Linked DNA regions of Homo sapiens: regions 2, 3, 4, 5, 6 and 7 are each linked to region 1. The links are contacts of gene promoters, found by promoter capture Hi-C in blood cells and fetal thymus (Javierre and others, 2016). All regions are on one chromosome and are shown on one strand. Each heading gives the region's core, a stretch centred on a gene start or on the middle of the fragment in contact. The rest is flanking DNA. Distances are from core to core; before and after follow the strand shown.

The links. The method cuts DNA at HindIII sites, captures the fragments that hold promoters and counts their contacts. A CHiCAGO score of 5 or more calls a contact.
Region 2: a contact is called between a fragment that was not itself captured here and the fragment with the promoter of OR52I1 in region 1, in 2 of 17 cell types (M1 macrophages and M2 macrophages). The highest score is 8.9, in M1 macrophages.
Region 3: a fragment that was not itself captured here is called in contact with the fragment with the promoter of OR52I1 in region 1 in 2 of 17 cell types (M0 macrophages and M1 macrophages); the score reaches 5.4 in M0 macrophages.
Region 4: a contact is called between a fragment that was not itself captured here and the fragment with the promoter of OR52I1 in region 1, in 14 of 17 cell types (M1 macrophages, M2 macrophages, megakaryocytes and 11 more). The highest score is 15.1, in M1 macrophages.
Region 5: a contact is called between a fragment that was not itself captured here and the fragment with the promoter of OR52I1 in region 1, in 2 of 17 cell types (megakaryocytes and erythroblasts). The highest score is 6.5, in megakaryocytes.
Region 6: a fragment that was not itself captured here is called in contact with the fragment with the promoter of OR52I1 in region 1 in 6 of 17 cell types (M1 macrophages, M2 macrophages, M0 macrophages and 3 more); the score reaches 7.7 in M1 macrophages.
Region 7: a contact is called between a fragment that was not itself captured here and the fragment with the promoter of OR52I1 in region 1, in 10 of 17 cell types (M1 macrophages, M0 macrophages, monocytes and 7 more). The highest score is 8.4, in M1 macrophages.

Annotation. Positions count from the first base shown.
Region 1 is chr11:4,592,569-4,595,416 of GRCh38, reverse strand. It overlaps OR52I1 (olfactory receptor family 52 subfamily I member 1), which reads right to left and starts at 1,378. Exons shown (of 1, transcript NM_001005169.1): 1 at 404-1,378. The coding sequence starts at 1,378. The coding sequence ends at 404. It overlaps OR52I2 (olfactory receptor family 52 subfamily I member 2), which reads right to left. Exons shown (of 2, transcript NM_001405760.1): 2 at 2,077-2,848. The HindIII fragment of the contact is 4,139 bases long and covers 1-2,256 here.
Region 2 is chr11:4,133,264-4,136,111 of GRCh38, reverse strand. RRM1 (ribonucleotide reductase catalytic subunit M1) reads right to left here. Exons shown (of 19, transcript NM_001033.5): 17 at 2,454-2,549; 18 at 842-1,030. Among named protein-coding and RNA genes, the nearest start is that of RRM1, 40 kb to the right of the region's middle. The HindIII fragment of the contact is 635 bases long and covers 1,110-1,744 here.
Region 3 is chr11:4,149,992-4,152,839 of GRCh38, reverse strand. No RefSeq gene overlaps it. Among named protein-coding and RNA genes, the nearest start is that of LINC02749, 36 kb to the left of the region's middle. The HindIII fragment of the contact is 5,252 bases long and covers 1-2,848 here.
Region 4 is chr11:4,176,547-4,179,394 of GRCh38, reverse strand. No RefSeq gene overlaps it. Among named protein-coding and RNA genes, the nearest start is that of LINC02749, 9.2 kb to the left of the region's middle. RefSeq lists enhancers at 1-127, 128-655. The HindIII fragment of the contact is 842 bases long and covers 1,023-1,864 here.
Region 5 is chr11:4,995,813-4,998,660 of GRCh38, reverse strand. OR51L1 (olfactory receptor family 51 subfamily L member 1) reads right to left here. Exons shown (of 3, transcript NM_001004755.2): 2 at 1,078-1,179. Among named protein-coding and RNA genes, the nearest start is that of OR51L1, 2.4 kb to the right of the region's middle. The HindIII fragment of the contact is 269 bases long and covers 1,317-1,585 here.
Region 6 is chr11:4,195,435-4,198,282 of GRCh38, reverse strand. All of the region lies in intron 1 of LINC02749 (long intergenic non-protein coding RNA 2749), which reads right to left. Among named protein-coding and RNA genes, the nearest start is that of LINC02749, 9.7 kb to the right of the region's middle. The HindIII fragment of the contact is 3,403 bases long and covers 1-2,848 here.
Region 7 is chr11:4,212,681-4,215,528 of GRCh38, reverse strand. No RefSeq gene overlaps it. Among named protein-coding and RNA genes, the nearest start is that of SSU72L5, 19 kb to the left of the region's middle. The HindIII fragment of the contact is 2,918 bases long and covers 48-2,848 here.

The DNA.
Region 1 (2,848 bases), core at 129-2,628:
TAATAGCTTCTTCCATGTAATCACTTGGAGGAAAGAACAGTTCTGAGAATATCAGTCAGGTTAAGGGGAAGATACCAAACAGTTGGTCTCTTCAGCAGAGGGGATGGTAGGATATTAGGTAGGAAATATAGGTCAGAAGCTATAGAAGGAAAAATTACAGAGCTGTATTCTATACCAAACTTACTCTGATTCAGACACTATCATATTAACCCATTAAAAATGTCAGAAAATTAGAAACATTTCATTCATATTATTGGTAGAAATTTAAAAGTTACACAAAGATATCCTTTATAGCTTCATCTCAGATTTCCTTATAGTACCAGGTAAACCAATCCAGCTCCACAGATCTCTGAGGCATCTTTGAAGTTGGCTAGAATGCTCTGGATCTGAACAGATATTGTGTTCATGAACCCAGGTTGGAGTGGTCAAAGAGGAAGTGCATCAGATAACTCCATATTCCCTCCAGCAATTGTTTGGTCCTCATGCCATAGATGATGGGATTTAAAGTGGCTGGGATGATCACGTACAGGTCAGCTAGCAGCACTTGGGTGTGCAAGGGCACTATATCCTGCCCCAACCAGGCCGCATAGATGGATGCCATCCCAGGTAGATAGTACAAAGCCATAACCCCCACATGGGAGCCACATGTGCTTAATGCTTTCAACTGAGCAGTCTTTGAGGAGAGATCAAATACTGCCCTGAGAATTAAGATATAGGAGGCAGCAATGAAGGCCACATCAGAGCCCACCATAAGAGAGGAACCAATCAGACTGTAGAGACTGCTGGGCACGGGGTCAGCACATGCTAACCTGGCCAAAGCTATGTGCTTACAGTAGGAGTGGACAACCACATTGGAGCCACAGAAAGGTAGATGATTCATCATCCAACTCAGTGGAGTCATGAATGTGACAGCTCTGATGGTGACGGCCATACTCATTCCCAGCATCACTTGAGGCGTGAGAATTCTCTTGTAGTGTAGAGGCTTGCAGATGGCTACATAGCGGTCAAAAGCCATGGTCAGCAGCAGCCCCGTCTCCACAGCTGTGGCTAAGTGGACAAAAAACATCTGAGTGAAACAAGCACTAAAGCTGATGGAGCTGTCTCCCGAGCAGAAGATGCTCACCATCTTGGGTACCACGGAGGAGGCCATAACAATGTCCACAGCAGCCAGAACACACAGAAAGCAATACATGGGCTCATGCCGAGTGGAATCCATCCAGATTGCAGTCACGATGAGGGTGTTTCCTAACAGGGCTGTGATGTACATGGCACTCAGTGAGATAGCCAGCCAAAGATGTGAAGATTGCAGTCCTGGGATACCCACAAGGAGGAAGGAGGCAGGGGTTTCCATTGTGTGGTTGTAAGCTGGACCCAGCATCACAGGTGAGACTTCTTGCCTATTAATGTATAGATGATGTAAGAGAATGGTGCAGTCCTATAAGATTAGTTCCTCTTTGTGGTGCTGGGAAAACCTAGGGATATTCTCAGCTTGGTGGTATGGCAGGATCAGAAAAATGACTTCTAATACTGTGCTACTTTTCATCCTCCTTACAAGTTTCTATTCATTGTTGAAGGATCAGCTCGTGAATTCCTTCCTTAGGGACTTGTGTTCTGCTCTCTTCCTCACCCAACCCCATGCCCAGGTTAAGTTAATTACCTCTTTTGCAGTTTCCTGAAATCTCCTGTAGGGACTAAATCGACAATTCCAGTACTGTATGAGTTTATGGTATTCACTCAAGTGCCTTATAGGAAGATTGTGATCCATAGCTGTGGTCACAAGTCACTTGAGTGAAGATATATATACTCATTACAGTAAACAATTTCCACAGAAAGAACGATTAACAGAGGAAAGAATGACTTATCTCTGTGTGCTGTTACTAAATGTTGAAACCAGAACTTCTTGAAAACAAACATCACATTTTATATGCTCAGCATATTGCATAGACAAAACATAAATTCAGCATTCTTGTGATTCATGAAGTACGTTAGTAAGTTCAGTAAAATAAAACCATTAGAGAATAACATTATCACATTTTACAGGTGATTATAAATTATCTATAAATAAATATAATCCTTACCTTCTCTAAATTTACCCTGGATCCTATTCACTTTGGTTCAGTTAATAGATTAAATTACTACAAGGAAAATCTTAGGGTTACCTTATAGATGACCCCCCCTCCCCAATAAGTTGTTATGGTTCTTTAATACAACTAACTCCCTCTTCCTGATAACCAAGATGTTCCAAACAAGAAAGCTTTATCCTTTAGAAAGTTAAGCACTTTATTATTAACACAGTATGTGCCAGTACTATGTTAAAAGTGTAGTATTCATAATCTGAGTGTATTTCTCCATTTGTAATATAAGACAAACATCCATTCCATACAACACAGTTTGTATAACTTAGATTAAATATTCTAGCCAAGATCATGTAGTACGTGTGTGGTAAGTTTTGGGTTTAAGCTATGACTCCCAGGTGTCCATCCAGCCCAACATAAATAGTCAACAAGACAACTATGGATAAAACAAGGTTAGGGGTTTCACTTGGCCACGTTTGATGAGACAAAGATAGCTACTGCTGTGCACAGCCAGCAGCTGAGCTCTACCACTTGTTCATCTCTGTTTATTGATGTATTCACCCTCCATTGCCTCATTCAGGTGTTACCATATCATATAATATGTAACAATCTAAGTGGGGAAACCTGAATATAAAGAAGTCAGCATTAACTACCATTCTATTCCTGTGTGATAGCTGTTTAGTTACTCTCTCCTTAGGATGATTGGTTTCCATGATTTCATATTCATATGGTGTTTGGTCATAGGCACATTTTCCCTGCCATCTGAGAAGACT
Region 2 (2,848 bases), core at 178-2,677, 460 kb after region 1:
CTGTTCTTTTCACTCCTAAAACAGGCTTATCTCTTTGGAAAGGTCAAACATTTTTATTCTTTTGTCTTTGTTTTTATGCATATGACTTCCAGGTTTGCCCAAGACAATATGTCTGCCTTAGGTTATAACTGTTTAGAGAGCTAGACTGTGTCTCTGTGTAACAACAGACTATAAGACTTCAAAGATAAAGATCATCATCTTCTATTCAGTATCCTCAGTCCTGGCACATACTAGATGTTCAATAAATGTTAAATTAAAAAACAAATTTATAATTCTACTTAAATACCCAATACATTATCAGGGAATAAGAACATAATCCAAAATCACCAGACTTTACAGCTGGCAACGACTAGCTAAGTAAGCTGGCTTTCACTTTATAAAGTGAGAAAACAATGGATGTTTTTGAATAGCGGGTTGACGTGTGCAAAGTTTTATCTGAGGAATGGTGGTAATGCACACAAAATGGCTGGGAGCAGAGATCCTAGAAGCAATAAGGTCAGTTTAGAATAACAGCAGCAGAAAAGGAAGGAAGATATTTAAGAAATAATACAAAGGAACAATCAACACAACTTGGTAATTGTACGGACAGTAAAGGAAGGAAAGCATCACAGGTAACTACAAGGTTTCAAACCTAAGAAGGAAATAAACCTAACAGAAACAAGAAAATCCAAGGCAAGACCCTGTTCTGGTACAAAAACCATGGGTTGGTTTTAACGTTCTGGATTTGAACTTAAAGAACTTCTAGGTGATAATATTTAATAGGTGGCTAAAACATAAAATCATTCCAATGCCAAAATATCTCAAGCTGGCAATTAAGTACTCCTTGATATTCTCTACCAACCTGCTTCCAGCCGTAGAAGTGCATACTAGTGAGTTTGCCATAGTTAGGCTCAGCAATGTGGATGTTCAAAGATTGGCTTTGATCAATGAAAGCACCTCTCTCAGCTGCCATCTTGAGAACAGTTTTCTGAGAGATTTCCCACACAGTTTTATAAAGTTGCTTCAGGTCATCAGGAATTTCTGGTATGCTCTAAAGAAGGAAAACCCAATGTTTACTTTACTCCAGTTAAAGAAAGCAGTGTATGATTAATAGAATAGTGACACAAGCTTTGATCTTCATTTTACTTCCTGCCAGATCTGACCTTACCATTCAGTATCATATGATATGATCCTTATCAAGTTTACCAAGACTATTTAGAAAGTTGAACAAAACCCCCATCTAACCAACCAAATATCAATCTGGTGATAGTAATTTCAGCATCCCTTTTTTGTTGGTCATAAACCAATTTTTTAATTTTTTAATTGATTTATGACCCAAACATTCATTCTTCTAGAGGCACTTAAAGAAAGGAAAAGTCAGAGCTAAGCAGCAATAAATGACCCTTGAGTTTTGCAGAAAACACAAAAAATAAGGGCTGTAATTCACAGGGACCAAGGGAAGCAATGAGATAAAACCCTTTAAATAAGCTAGGATTTCAAACTCCCTTTGGAATCCAAAATCAGGTTTTCTTAGGCCTAGGGTTAACTTTCATTAAAACACACAGACTGGCTAATGCTACAGTTTCTGTCATTAAATATGGAACTGTTATAGGACTCTTCATCTGTGTTGCTAAGCAGACCAACATTTAGCCAGACACCTCTATCTGCAAATAAATGCCTCTTGACTCTTAGTTGCAAATATTTACACGATTTGTGACTCTGTCTTTTGGACTATCAGTCGTCAACCATGATTTTTAATTAAGCTTGACTCTCTTAATTTCAGTCTTTCTATCTATGATCCCCCAAATTTTGATATACTTTGGAATCACCAAAAGAATCTTTAAAAATTATTGATGTCTGAGGCCAGGCACGGTGGCTCATGCATGTAATCCTAGCACCCTGGGAGGCCAAGGCAGGCGGATCACCTGAGGTCAGGAGCCTGGCCAATATGGTGAAACCCTGTCTCTACTAAAAATACAAAAAACAGCCGGGCGTGGTGGCAGGCACCTGTAATCCCAGCTACTTGGGAGGCTGAGGCAGGAGAATCGCTTGAACCTAGGAGGCAGAGGTTGCAGTGAGCCATGATTCCACCACTGCACTCCAGCCTGGGCGACAGAGACTTCGTCTCAAAAAAAAAAAAAAAAAAAAAAAATTGATGTCTGGTTCCTGTTCCTAGACATTTAATTGGTAAGGAATGCAACCTAAGCTTCAGGATTTTAAAAGCTCCCCAGTTGATTCTAAGATGCAGAAAAATTGAGAACTACTTTTTTATATTATTGCATAAAAACAAGATGGTAAGGGTTATGTAAAGATGTGTACAATCCTAGCACAACAATGCAGAGGTGAACAGAGCTACACAAGCAAAACCTAGATGAACACAATGAAGTCATTCTCTCCATTGTCTAGCATGAGTGAGGAGGTACCACAATGTCCAACTCAGCCCCTGCAGAGCACACTTCATTTTCATTCTATACCTGAATAGAGCCATTGCATGCAATAATCTGGTTTTTCATCTCTTCATGCCATAGGCCCCGCTCGGTAAGATCTTTCAATAAGTGAGGATTTACAATCTGAATGGAAAAGCAGAAAATGTATGAAGAAATAAATAACAGTGACTGCTTAGAAAAGACTACAGCTTTGAAGCTTAAACTAAAATCACTTAAGAGTTATTTAATGCTAGATTGCTTGGTAAATTCTATCTTTTATAAAGACGAGACATCAATGCCACCACACGAAAGCTATATTCCTTTAAGATCTTGACATCTGTTATTCAAGAAACAATATAATTAGCCAGGCATGGTGGCGCAGCATGCCTGTAATCCCAGCTACTCAGGAGGCTGAGGCATGAGAATTGCTTGAACCCAGGAGG
Region 3 (2,848 bases), core at 115-2,614, 440 kb after region 1:
AAATTGGACGCCCAGGGTGGGAAATGGGAGTTAGTCAGATTTGTCCCTTAATCTTTTCCCTATCTTTTCTTTCTCTCCCTAGTTTATAACTGATGGCTTTTCACCTCACCAAGTCACAGGAATGGAGAATAGCTCAAGAGTAGACATGACCTCAACTGACCTGGCATTGGTCCTTCCTGGACTTGGTAGATGTTAAAAGCAGATAGTATTTTGGGATGCATTTGTTGAGTATACTGTTACATGCTGTATTTTGACCATTGATTGTCATTACTAGCCTACTCAGTAGAATGCAGACTCACTCAGGGAACACAAATGTTACTTATTGTTGTATCCATGCATCCAGCATATGGCCTAGCACAAAGTAAGTGCTCAGTAAAGATGTGAAGAAAAAAATAAAGGAATGAGTAACTGTATAAAAATGAGAAAGCAAAATGGACACAAGAGCTACGTTGTGTTGTAAAAATCTCACACTATTTGTGAAAGACTTAATAGTACTTGTAGATAGACTGTGGTAAGTTAAAGATATGTACTATAAACCCTAAAGCAACCAAGAGGAAATAAGACAACAAAGAGGAACAACTAATAAACCAACAAAGGAGAGTAAATGAAATCACAAAAAGAAGATCCAAAGAAGGTATAAAAAAAGAGAAAAAGAGGAGCTTTTTTAGTCCTATTTCCAAATTCCAGAGGACAAACTGGATGCCTCCCTGGAGGAGCCAGCCCCTGCCTCTGTGGTTCCCAGTTTTTCACAGCTGAGTACACACTGCACTCTCTGCCCTAATTTCTGAACCACCCAGAAGTAAATTCCTCACCAACCGCAGCTTGCATGCACATACACACACACACACACACAGACCCTAAATCAGATCCATGTCTTGACCACTGGGCTCTCCTATTGTCACCCCAGAGCTCTTTCCTGACTTTGGGTACCCCCTAAGTGTCCATTTAACCTTCAAATTGCAAGAGCCCCTTCCCTCAGCTTAGCCCCAGGTCATCCTAGTCAGTGATATACAGATTATGCCTGTTTATGCCCCTGGGATGGGACTTGTTCTGAAACCTCACTTGCTCTTCCTGAGCCTCTAATGGCTCATCTGTAAAAGAGGGGAAATCCCTTAGCAGAAGTGATTGCTCTGTGAAAAATGCCAAGAGCCATAGAGAAAAAAATGTTAGTACAGGGCCTGGCACAGTGGCTCACACCTGTAATCCCAGCACTTTGGGAGGCTGAGGCAGGTGGATCACTTCAGGTCAGGAGTTCAAGACCAGCCTGGCCAACATGATGAAACCCTGTCTTTACTAAAAATACAAAAATTAGCTGGGCATGGTGGCAGGCACCTGTAATCCCAGCCACTCGGGAGGCTGAGGCAGGAGAATTGCTTGAACCCAAGAGGTGGAGGTTGCAGTGAGCCGAGATCAAGATTGCACCACTGCACTCCAGCCTAGGCAACAGAGTGAGACTCTGTCTCAAAAAAAAAAAAAAAAAAAAAAAAATTTGGATACTGTCACCTCCACCCAGCCCTCTCCTGGGGTCCTCTCTGAGGGACAGATGGGTTCTTCTGGGTTTCTCCTTGTTTCCTCCTTTTGAGTGCCCTTTGGAATGACTACCCTCTGGGAATCTCCTCAGGCTTCTCCCCTGGAGCCACAGGTCTAATTTTCCATCCCTCATAAATCAGCCTCATAGTGCCTTGGAGTTGGGCACTGACCTGACCTCCAGCCTTAGCTCTTCAGAGGCGAAACCAAAGACACAGCAGGCTGCAACCCAACTGGAGACTACTGCAGGCTGCCACGGTGAGGCAACAATAAATTTATGGGGGATTTGGAGAGAGGTAAACCTGAGATTGGAGCTGAACTCCACCTTTTACCATTGACATACCTAAGTCACTAAGTCATATCCCAGCCCTATCATTTAAAGGTATACCTATGATACTTTAAGAACATTAGTTAACCTCTCTAAATCTCAGTGTCTTCAGCTATAACCTGGGTTAATAAATAGTATTATGCATGCAGCCCTCTATATCCATGGGTCTGACATCTGTAGGTTCAACCAACTGCAGATCAAAAATAGTCGAAAAGAAATTTAAAAATCAAGAATACAACAATAAAAAAATACAAAATTTAAAATACAGTATAAGAGCTGGGTGCGGTGGCTCACGCCTGTAATCCCAGCACTTTGGGAGGCCGAGGTGGGCGGATCACAAGGTCAGGAGATGGAGACCATCCTGGCTAACACAGTGAAAACCCGTCTCTACTAAAAATACAAAAAATTAGCTGGGCGTGCTGGCAGGCGCCTGTAGTCCCAGCTACTCGGGAGGCTGAGGCAGGAGAATGGCAAGAACCCAGGAGGCGGAGGTTGCAGTGAGCCGAGATTGCACCACTGCACTCCAGCCTGGGCGACAGAGTGAGACTCCGTCTCAAAAAAAAAAAAAAAATGGTATAACAACTATTTACATAGCATTTACATTGTACTAGGTGTTACAAGTAATCTGGAAACAATTTAAAGTATATGGGAGGATGTGCATAGATTATATGTAAACTCTATGTAATTTTTAAACTTTTTTAGTGACACAGATAATTGTACATATTTGTGGGGTACATGGTGATGTTTTGATACATACAATGGAGAGTGATTAGATAAGAGTAATTAGAATATCCATCATCTCAAATACATCATTTCTTTGTCCTGAGAACATTTACTATCCTAGCTATTTGAAACCATGTATTGTTAACTGTAGTCATCCTACAGTGTATAGAACACTAGAACTTATTCCTACTATCTTGCTGTCATGTTGTATATTTAATAAATCCCTCCCTATCCTTCCTTTCCCCCTACCTTCCCCAGCCTCAAGTCCTC
Region 4 (2,848 bases), core at 194-2,693, 420 kb after region 1:
CACAAGCAAAGTGCATGCTCCCCAGCTCCCTGCCTACTGCTGCCAAAGCACAAGCAAAGTGCATGCTCCCCAGCTCCCTGCCTACTGCTGCCAAAGCACAAGCAAAGTGCATGCTCCCCAGCTCCCTGCCTACTGCTGCCAAAGCACAAGCAAAGTGCATGCTCCCCAGCTCCCTGCCTACTGCTGCTGCCACTGAAAGCAACCCTGTGCTCCCCAGTAGCAGGGTGGCAGTGACACCTCCACCCCAACATACCACCAGGAGCCTAGGGATCACCTGCCTCTGCCTAACACAGCCAGTGCCTACACACACTACTAAGGGGCCTAAGGAGCCAGGCCTGGCTCCACTCCTCCTTCCCAGTGCCTAAGCATGTCATCTTTGGGTATGGGAATCACCCAACCCAGTTCATCACCTTTGGCACCCAAACACTTTCCCAGGGCCTGAGATCAGGCCCACCCAACCTGCCTCTACCACCACAGCTGACACCCACACATACGTACGCACTATGTGCCTAGGGACTGGCCTCCCAAGCCCAATGCAGCCACCAGAAATTATTTAATAAAATCATGTATCAATAATAACCTTGAATACAAACAGATTAAACTTTCCAAATAAAAGACAAAGACTGGCTAAATGAATTAAAAAACATGACCCAACTATATGCTTCCTAAAAGAAACTCACCTTATGTATAAAGACACATATAGATTTAAACTAAAGGGATGAAAAAAGTCCATGCAAATGAAAACCAAAGGCAAGCAGGAATAGCTGTACATATAAGAGATAAGACAGACTTTAAGTCAAAAACAATAAAAAGAGATAAAGACAATCATTATATAATGATAAAGGGATCAATTTGGCAAAAGAATATAACAATTCTAAACATATATGCACCCAACATCAGAGCACCCAGATATATAAAGCAAATATTATTAGATGTAAAGAAAGAAGTAGACTCCAGTACAATAAGAGTTGTGAACTTCAACACCCCACTCTCAGCATTAAACAGATTATCTAGACCAAGCTTGTTCAACCTATGGCCTGCAGGCCACATGCAGCCCAGGATGGCTTTGAATGCAGCTCAACACAAATTCATAAACTTTCTTAAAACATAATGAGAGCTTTTGCAATTTATTTTAAGCTCATCAGCTATTCGTTAGTGTTACTGTATTTTATGTGTGGCTCAAGACAATTCTTTTTCCAATGTGCCTTAGGGAAGCCAAGAAATTGGACACCCCTGATCTAGACAGAAAATTAACAAAGAAACATTGAATTAAAACTGCACATTATACCAAATATACCTAACAAAAATTTACAGGACATTTCATCCAACAGCTACAAAACACACATTCTTCTCATCAGCATATGGAACATGCTCCAGGATAAACCATATGTTAGCACACAAAACAAGTCTCCACAAATTTTTAAATATCAAAATCATATGAAGTACCTTCTCAGACCACAATAAAATAAAACCAGAAGTTAATAACAAGAGGAATGTTGGAAACTGCACAAATATATGGAAATTAAACAACATGTCCCTGAATGGCCATTGGATCAAAAAAGAAATTTAAAAGGAAATCAAAAAATTTCTTGAAACAAATGAAAATCAAAACACAACATACCAAAATCTATGGGATACAGCAAAAGCAGTGCTAAATGGTAGTTTATAGCAATAAATGCCTACATCAAAAAAGTGGAAAGAATTCAAATAATCTAACAATGCACCTCAAGGAATGAGAAAAGCAAGAGAAAACCAAAACCAAAATTAGTGGAAGAAAAAGTCTACACTGTATGTATCAAAACATAACTTGGGATTCCATAAATATGTACTATTATTATATGCCAATTAAAAAAGAAAACAAGCTTTTAAAAATAAAATAAAATACCTAGGAATAAATTTAATCGTGAGGCAAAAAACAAGGAAAACTACAAAACACTGATGAAATAAATTAAAGAGGACACAAACAAATGGAAAGAGAGCCTATGTTCTTAAATCAAAATAATTGATGTCCTTAAGATGACTATACTGGCCGGGCACGGTGGCTCACACCTGTAATCCTAACACTTTGGGAAGCCGAGGCAGGTGGATCACCTGAGGTCAGGAGTTCAAGACCAGCCTGGCCAACATGGTGAAACCCCATCTCTATTAAAAATACAAAGTTAGCCAGGCATGGTGGCACACACCTGTAATCCCAGCTACTCAGGAGGCTGAGGAAGGAGAATCGCTTGAACCTGAGAGGTGGAGGTTGCAGTGAGCCAAGATTGTGCCACTGCACTCCAGCCTGAGCAACGGGAGTGAGACTCCATCTAAAAAAAAAAAAAAAAAAAAAAAAAAAAGATGACCACACTGCCCAAAAAAACCACAGATTCAAGGCAATCACTATCAAAATACCAATGTCAGTTTTGACAGAAATAGAAAAAACAACACTAAAACTATTCTGGAACCAAAAAGGAGCCTAAATAGCCAAAGCAATCCTGAGCAAAAACAACAAAGCCGAAAGTTTCACACTAGCTGACTTCAGAATATATCACAAAGCTATATTAACCAAAGCAGCATGCTATTGGAATAAAAACAGACACATAGAACAATAAAACAGAATAGAGAATCCAGAAATACATGCATGTGTTTACAGCCAATGATTTCCAACAAAAGTGCCAAGAATATACATTGAAGGACAGTCTCTTGAATAAACAGTGCTGGGAAAGTTGGATATCCATATGTGAAAGAATGAAACTAGACCCTATTTCTCACTATACAAAAAATCAACTCAGGATGGATTAAAGACTTAAACGTAACACCCAAAATTATAAAACCAATAGAAGAAAGCATAAAGCACAGGGAAACACTT
Region 5 (2,848 bases), core at 202-2,701, 400 kb before region 1:
TATTATAAAGATGAAAATAGAGAAAAGTCAGAGTGAATGTCGATGGATTTGTATGAGTTTCTGGCCAATGTTCTTGAGTTAATCAGTTATTGCTTCTAGGCTATCTTTTCATTCATGACAATCGAATTGATCCCATGGACTCAACATAATTTCTATTCAGCTGCATTTTTATTTAAAGATTTATAATATTTAAACATTTTAAATATTTAATATTTTAATAATACAAGATAAATACCCCTATATGAAAAGAGAGCATGAACATAAGAAACAGAATCCATAATACCAGAATCCATAATCCCAGCATGCTTTATTGAGCTGCTATTTAACCAACACAGTTTTGAGCTGTTTAGTATAGCAACTATTCCTGACCTAAAAAAAAATTCACGGTAAAAAAACTATATATATAGTGTGTGAGTGTATATGCGTGTGTGTGTGTGTGTGTGTGTGTGTGTGTGTGTGTGTGTGTTTGTGAAATAAGAGTTTAAATAGTTTGAAAATAAATCTTTAGGCCATAACATCACAATATAACTACGAAAGTCCATTAAAGACATTTCCCTTTCTGCTCTTCCACAAAATGAGAACAATGCATTTAACAGTTATCTATTACATGTTTTCAGTAAAAGAGGTACTTTTCCACTTTATTTCTATTGATTTTTTTGATTGATTGATTTCTGTTTCCAAACGATGCTTTTAATATCATTTTTAAAAGATCATCAATCAAAATATTAAGTGGTTCTTAATTTTCTGACCCACTTGCACCTACTTCTGTGAACTCATGACAATCCAGAATTTAGGCCTTAAATATTCACTATCAGTGCCTCTTAGAAACAACCAAGCTCTTCTGAGTGTTTCAAAATATGATATTAACATCTGGCTTTACTTTCCCTCAGCAATTGTTATTGTAATAGCCTCCTTGCCTGTGCTGAACCAGTGTTGCCCTTGCTGTATCATACTGTGTTGATGGCACTTGGTACAGCAGCTGAGCATTATGAGATTATCTGCCCCTTCTGTTACCTAGGTCTTTATTTTAACCCTGTCTAGTTCCATTAACTGCCCCTGAGAAAATTATTTACTTACCTTGTCCCTTAGAGTCTGGGCCTCATAGACTTCAGCAACATCTCTCTGTAGCAACATCTCAGTAATTCCCTCAACCCTCCTTCTGGACCCTTAGTCTCTGACCTTTTGAAAGATTAAGATAAGACTTAGCCTCATCCTAGAGTAAAAATATTTCCAAATGTGGTCTCAAACTCGTATCACAAGGCTCCAGCTAGCTAGCTGTTTCTTTTTATTATCTCCATTATATTTAATAAAAAGCTTTATTTTAAAAATCCCTTGACTGATTCTTATCTCACTTTCATACCGTGAAGACTGAAAGTTCTTAGATGGCACAACTTAGAATTCCAAAGAGGACTTGATTTAGAATCTGTATCTGAGGAACAAAAGAAAGCACAAAGCCCTCTTCTCCATGTAATGAGAAGGATTTGTCTCTTTTTCTACTTTTACCCAAGTACAGGAATCCTCCATCTTCTATGAGTCAGAACCTAACCTGGTACTCTTCTCTAGCCTAGGCAATGTGAATGAAGCTTTCATTTGAGACCCTCGTCTTAAATAAAGCAGTCAGCTACCCATCAAATTCTTCACACCCAGCAGAGTATGTGTTTAGAGCATTTATTTTTCTTCACCCCTAAGCAACATTTTTCTCTCCAGTCTTCCATATCACTAGCTGACTTTATTTTTTCTTTCTCCTCACTCAGAAAAATTTTTTGACCTCCTGTTGTACAGTTGAGCTCATAAAAATGATATAGGTATTAACATCGAAATAAAAAGAACACACACACACACAGAGTGAGAGAGAGGGAGGAGAGAAAGAAAGAAACAGAGAGAGAGAAATGAAAGAAAGAAAGAAAGAAAGAAAGAAAGAAAGAAAGAAAGAAAGAAAAGAAAAGAAAGGAAGGAAGGAAAAGAAAGAAAAAGAAAGAAAGAGAAAAAAAGAAAAAGAAAAGAAAACTGTGGCCACAGTGGAGAAGTAGTTTATTTTACCCCATGCCAGAAAAATATTCCATGTTTTCTCCTTTAATTCTTTCAGTCCTGAAATAAATCATATTTTCTTAAATTCTCACATAGAATGCAAAGAACAAAGTGGATCACTACTCTTTAGAATTCTCTTTCTCCCTGCTTTATGTGCAAGTCCCCTATGTGCAGATTGCGATGTTTAGAAAACTTCAGTTGTAGACTGGCCAATAGATTTGAGGTTAGGACAGGCAGGAATATTTCTGTTTGTAATCCCTATTAATTTTTAACTGTGTATATTTAAGGTATACAGAATGATGTTTATATATATATATGCATATACATAGACATATACATAGTGAAATGGTCATTACTATGTGCCTGTGTGTGTGTGTGTGCATGCACACACGTGCATGTGTATGCTAAGAACACCTAAGCTCTACTCTCTTGGCAAATTTTCGGTATACAATTTCTGTGGTTTTAATTCTTGCTCATATTGGTTTATCCCTCACTTAAAAAGAGTCCCCATTTCTACAATATTATTAACTCACTGCTTTATCTCATTGATTTATCCCTCACCTGAAAAGAGTTCCCATTCTACAATATTATGAACTGTGGTCATGCTGTATATTAGATCTCTAGACTTATTCTTCCTACATAACTGCAAGTTTGTATGCTTTGAGCTACTTTTCCGCATTTCCTCCACTACCCGGGCCCCCTAAGCCCCTTTCCCGTTTCTATTTCTGTGTGTACTTTCCCTTTCTTATCCTCTCACTGCCATATCTGTCATGTCTTTCACTTTTTAAAATCCATTTATTGTCTTTTCTCTATTCATTTT
Region 6 (2,848 bases), core at 103-2,602, 400 kb after region 1:
TATACAAAAATAAAATTATTTTATTATACAAAAATAAAATTATTTTATTCAAAAAAAAAAAGAAAAAAGAAAAGTCCTGGCCGGGTGCTGTGGCTCACGCCTGTAATCCCAGCACATTGGGAGGCCAAGGTAGGCAGATCACCTGAAGTCAGGAGTTTAAGACCAGCCTGGCCAACGTGGTGAAACCCCGTCTCTACTAAAAATTCAAAAATTAGCCGGGCGTGGTGGCGGGCACCTGTAATCCCAGCTACTCAGAAGACTGAGGCAGGAGAATCGCTTGAACCTGGGAGGGGGAGGTTGCAGTGAGCCGAGCCTGTACCACTACCCTCTAGCCTGGGCAACAGAGCAAGACTCTGTCGCAGAAAAAAAAAAAAAAATCCCAAAATAAATTAAACACTGAGAGAAAAGATCGGTAATATATAACACAGATACATATGTAATATCGCTAATATATAAATAACTTTTTCTACTCGATAGAAGTTTCAAAAACCTGATATAAAAATGGTCAAATAGTCAAAGACATAAACAGACCATTGACTGAAAAAAGAATTAAAATGTCCCGTAAACATGTGAAAAAACATTCAGCCTCAACTATAATAAGAGAAATGCAAATTAAAATAACACTGAGATATTATCTCTCACCTAGCAGATTGGCAAAAATGTAAACATACACTAACACGTTCTGTTGGCAAGGCTTGAAGAAAGTAGATGCTCAAGCATTTCTGATGGGAATGGAAATTAGTACAACCTTAATGGGGGAGAATTTGATGATATCAAACAAAATGGCACATGCTTTTCCCCCTTTTTATAATTTATCCTGGTAATACATATTCAAATATATACAAAAATACATATGTTTAAGGATTTTCATTGTAGCATTGTTTATAATTGAAAAATATTAGAAACAACCAAAATGACTTTACATAGGAAAATGGTTGAATGAACTATGGTACATCATCGAATGGAATAGTCTGCAGCTATAAAAATGAATGAGGATGACATCTATAAACTGATATAGAATGGCTCCCAAGATATGCTGTTAAATTTAAAAAGCAAAGTGTGAGAAAGTGTTTATGGTATGCCACGTTTTGTGCAAGAAAGAAAGGGGAATAAGAAAATATATATTTGTCTGCACAACTATACAAAAAGAAACTTAGGAAAGGAAACCCAGAAACTAATGAGATTGGTTCCATACAGGAGTGGGTGGAAATGGAGTGACTAAAGTTGCAGATAGCAAAATAAGTCACTTTTGTCAGACCCGAGCAAACTGGAGCCAGAACACACAAAGGAGCACAGCTCATGCTTGCACATCTGAGATAAGGACTATTTCAAGGACTTTCTAAAATAACTCCACGAGAAATTCCTTCATCTTTTATACATCTCATGCTTTTCATGATCTACATTTTACATGCATTTTACATTTTACATGCATGCACATATTTCTATGACCAGGTTTATCACTATACATTCTTTAGGACTGTAGCAATTCTGATAAGATGCTAGGCCGATGCCTAGCAGTGGCATCTCCACCAATGAACTGATGCTAATTCTAGCTTTGAGCCTCCAGAACCAATGAACTCTGTCTCCAAGCAGCTTACATAGCTTCTCCTTGCCAGTAAAAATTTCCCTTTACCTTTGGCTTGATGTACCTGTACCTATGGCTTGCTACAGCTGTGCTTCCCAGATTATAATCCTTTTGCTTACTCCCGAATAAACTCAACATATTAGGATATATTTTTCTCTGATGTCTTTTTTTAGCCTGATGGGTGAAAAGAATAAGATGGTGGGAGCAAGGTAGAGAAGATGGAGGGCAGTGACACTTCTCTGAGTTCATGTTTTTGTACAGATCTGTTCTGACTTTTACAACCATGTTAATGTTTCATGTACTCAGTTTTTCAGTAAATACAATCAACAAGGATAAAAGGAGGAAACATTAGCATTGAATACATATGGAAGCAAGTGTACCGAACTGTAGGTTAAGTGAATGACAAAACACAGTACGGGTAGGGGGTGATAACAGAAGTTTTGAAGCAGTACTTTGCCTCTGTATTCTCAGGCTAGGGCAAAAAGACAGTAGCAAATATTGAACTCTGTTTAATAGATTTGTTTCCCACACCAGCATGAGTTAACAATTCTGAAACTACATTCTGTGTATTCTAGGATTAAGCAAATAAGTAAATATACTGTGGGTAACTGAAACCAGGTTTTTCACGGTTGGAGAAGGAAATTACATATATGGAAAGAGAGAAGGTTAAAATGAACTCTAGAGTGTTGGATTGGAACTGGTCATATCAGTATGAACTCATGGTTTTTAAGAAAGATAGGTAGGTAAGTAGGTAGGTAGATAGATGAATGGATTTGCATGTGTGTGTGTGCATATTTACATAATATATATACTACACACACATGTGTGTATATGTATGACAGGGCCTAAAAATAACAACACTCTGGCAATGAACAGACCTATTCCAGGTCTTGGTTTGTTTTTATACACAATTCTCTGCTAAAAGGAATCAGGGTTTCTTAGAAAAATACCAGATTACAGAGTTTGAGCCGGGAAAGTACAAGATGAGCCTGGAATATCTTGTAGTAACAGAAAGTAAGGAAGTGCTCAAAAAGTAATAGCAGTGTGTCAAAAAGACACAAGAATCAACTTGGAGGAGCTCTCACAGGACTAATCTGGGATAATTTTGATCATCAAAATCACCAATGCTAGTAACAAAGCATAACTAATTAAATAAAATAAATATCTATGAATCCAGACTGACTGAATGGAAGATGGGTGGGTAGGTAGATGGATGGATGGGCGGGTGGATGGATGGATGGATGGATGGATGGATGGATGGAT
Region 7 (2,848 bases), core at 257-2,756, 380 kb after region 1:
ATTTTAAGAAGTGAAATGAAATAACTAGATGTGCATTTTAGAAAGCTTAGTATAGCCACAATATAAAGAATTCGTTACGAGGGCAAGAATGGGGATTGGGGAGACCAGTCAGGAGCCTGTTTGGTAACCCAGGTGGGGTCAGGAAAATGGCAGAGGGCATGGAGAGAAGGAAGTCACACAGCTGATTCCAGAAGCCCTTTCTCTGACTAGAGAGAGGGTGACTTCTCTACTAAATCATTCTGCTGTTTCTTCTGTTCCCTCTAGACTCTAGTGCCTATGGCCAACCTTGGAAAGGCATGGCCAAAGCACCTGTGTGAGCCACTGCTACAGAATCTGGAGGAGCTGACATAGAGAAGAAACTCAGGTTCCTCCTGAAGGACCCATCCATGGAGAGGTCCTCCCAGATACCCTGGGGCGAGGTGATGAAGACCTGGGACAAGGCCCTCAGCCACAGGAAGAAGATGACCATGAAGAGCTTGGGGAAGCAAATGCAGAGAAAGGCCTGTGTGTGTGGTAAGTGTGGGAAGGATTTGTGTTTGCGGCAACCACCCTCTGCTGTTCTCCCTTTGCATCCTGCCTTCTTTCAGTTCTAGTTTTCCCTTTAGATCCTTTTTTTCCTTTCACCTCCTCATCACCCACCCCTTCACTTCCCTCCACTGTTTGCCCACCATCCCTTTTCCTCCTGTTCCTCATTAGCCTGTGTGTGTGTGTGTGTGTGTGTGTGTGTGTGTGTGTGTGTGTGTCCTTGATTACCTCCACCTGTTCTTTCCACTTGCCATTTCAAAGGTGAAATGTCCTGCTCTCACTCAGAGATAATGTAGCTCCTCACTAGGTGGAAAGCCAGCATATTTTCACATGTTCAGTGACCTTGCCTGGAAGGAAGTAAAAGTCAGTTGACCCCAAAAAGCCCATCGCCACCACCACCACCTCAAGACCAGAGTTCAGGGGCCATGTTCTGGGTCAGTGACCTACTGGTATCACCAGAGTGAAGCTGAAAGGGGCCAAGAAGATGTATAAGCAATTCCAGGAAGGTCTGTAATAAGACTTTGAGGAGAGCCAGAAAGAACTTTCCCCTCCTTGGCCAGAAGCAATGCACGCCACAGAGTTCTGAGGGAAAGGGCCCTAGCGCTGCTTTCCTGGGGAGTGAGGCGCACACTCCACACCCACCTGAGTCCCCTGTCCACTGTTTCCTGGATCCGGTTTTAGTCTGTTGTGCAGCTTCCCTAATAAGGGGTAAGTGTTTCTTTGGCTGGCTGAAAGAGGCCTGCTCCTTTCCTGGTGCTATGAATCCAGGTGGGACTGCAGTGGCTCTTCTATGGCCATTGACTGTGTGAGCCCCACGGTAAGGCGGGGAGGAGGCAGGACAGGATGCAGGCATCCAAAGACACCACTGTGAGCTCTCTGAGGGGTCAGAAGACACAGAGAGCCATCCCTTATCACTTAGGAAATTCTGAGTTATTGACAATAAATGTGGCAGGGTACAGGAGGAGAGAGCTCTTGTAATTAAGTGATTGCTTCAAATATATCACCGCCCTCTAGAGATGGGAAATACCTAGACCAAGAATTCTTTCAGAGCCATATCTCAGATACGACAGGACTTCCTGTCGTAAGATAATAAACAGTACCATACTTTAAAAGCCAGTATTTCTAGTATCATAGTATTACTGTGTTTCTCTCTGTTTATCCCTGAGCCCCAGGGAGGTCTTGTTAGAGTGTACCAGCACTGTGACAGCTGGCAGATGGGGCACTGAGAGCCGGAGGAGGTGAGGACCGGTCACTCCACAGGCCTCCCCGACGTCTGCAGCGCTTGTAGGGACATCTAAGGGGCCAGTGTGACTTAAATACACTGCATAAGTTTGAAATGCATGTAGTTTTAGCTTTTGTTAAAATGGTTTTCCTTTATAGTCAGTTTTGAGGGTTTTTTAAATGTTATAAACATCTTTTTCATTGTTACTACTTTTTTTCCGTTTTCGTCCATCCTAGAAAAAAAAAATGTTGCCCTCAAAATTATCTTGTCTTTCTGCAATTGCCTTTGAGAAGGCTCATCTTCTCCAGACACATTATCATCTGAAATCAGTAGACAATCTTGTATTCTGTGACTGAACCCAAGTTTATTTCATCCAAACAACTTCAAACACCCAAGCAACAATATATACCTAGTATATTTTAGGACATCAGTAATGTCCTTTAAAAAGTGAACCTTTTTTTAAGCTACATTTTCTCATGTGTGTTCATTGAGGTTCTTACAGAAAGCTGCACTGCACGGTTGTCGGCCCTTTTTAAAGTCAACAGTTGACTCAGAAATAAAATATACTTAAAAATCTTATTATTTCTTATATTTTAAGTTCAGTTTTTAAAACTTTCTAAAAAATGTTACCGGTCATTTTTAAGTAGCCATTACAACCTAGTTAATAAGTCTTCATAAAAAATTCAAAGTGTTTATAAATAATTACAGTTTTGATTTCCTTAAATATAGAGATTGATTTTCATTTTAAAAATGTTTTAATAAGTTTCTAACTAGTTCTTATAATCTAATAAAATAAATTTAGAATTATAGTGGATGTGAGGTTCTCATACATGTTGTTAACATAACTTGCTGAAATATTATTACACATTTCAATTTAAAATTACTTCTTGGTAATTATTTATATGCACATTTAAAAGTTGACGTCAGGCATGGTGGCTCACTCCTATAATCCTAGCACGTTGGAAGGCCGAGGCAAGATCACTTGAGCCCAGGAGTTCTTGATTAGGCTGGGCAACAGTGAGACCCCCAACTCTATTTTTAAAAATACATAAATAAAAGTTGAAATCTGTTAAGCACTATATCTGGTAGGTACTATAATAT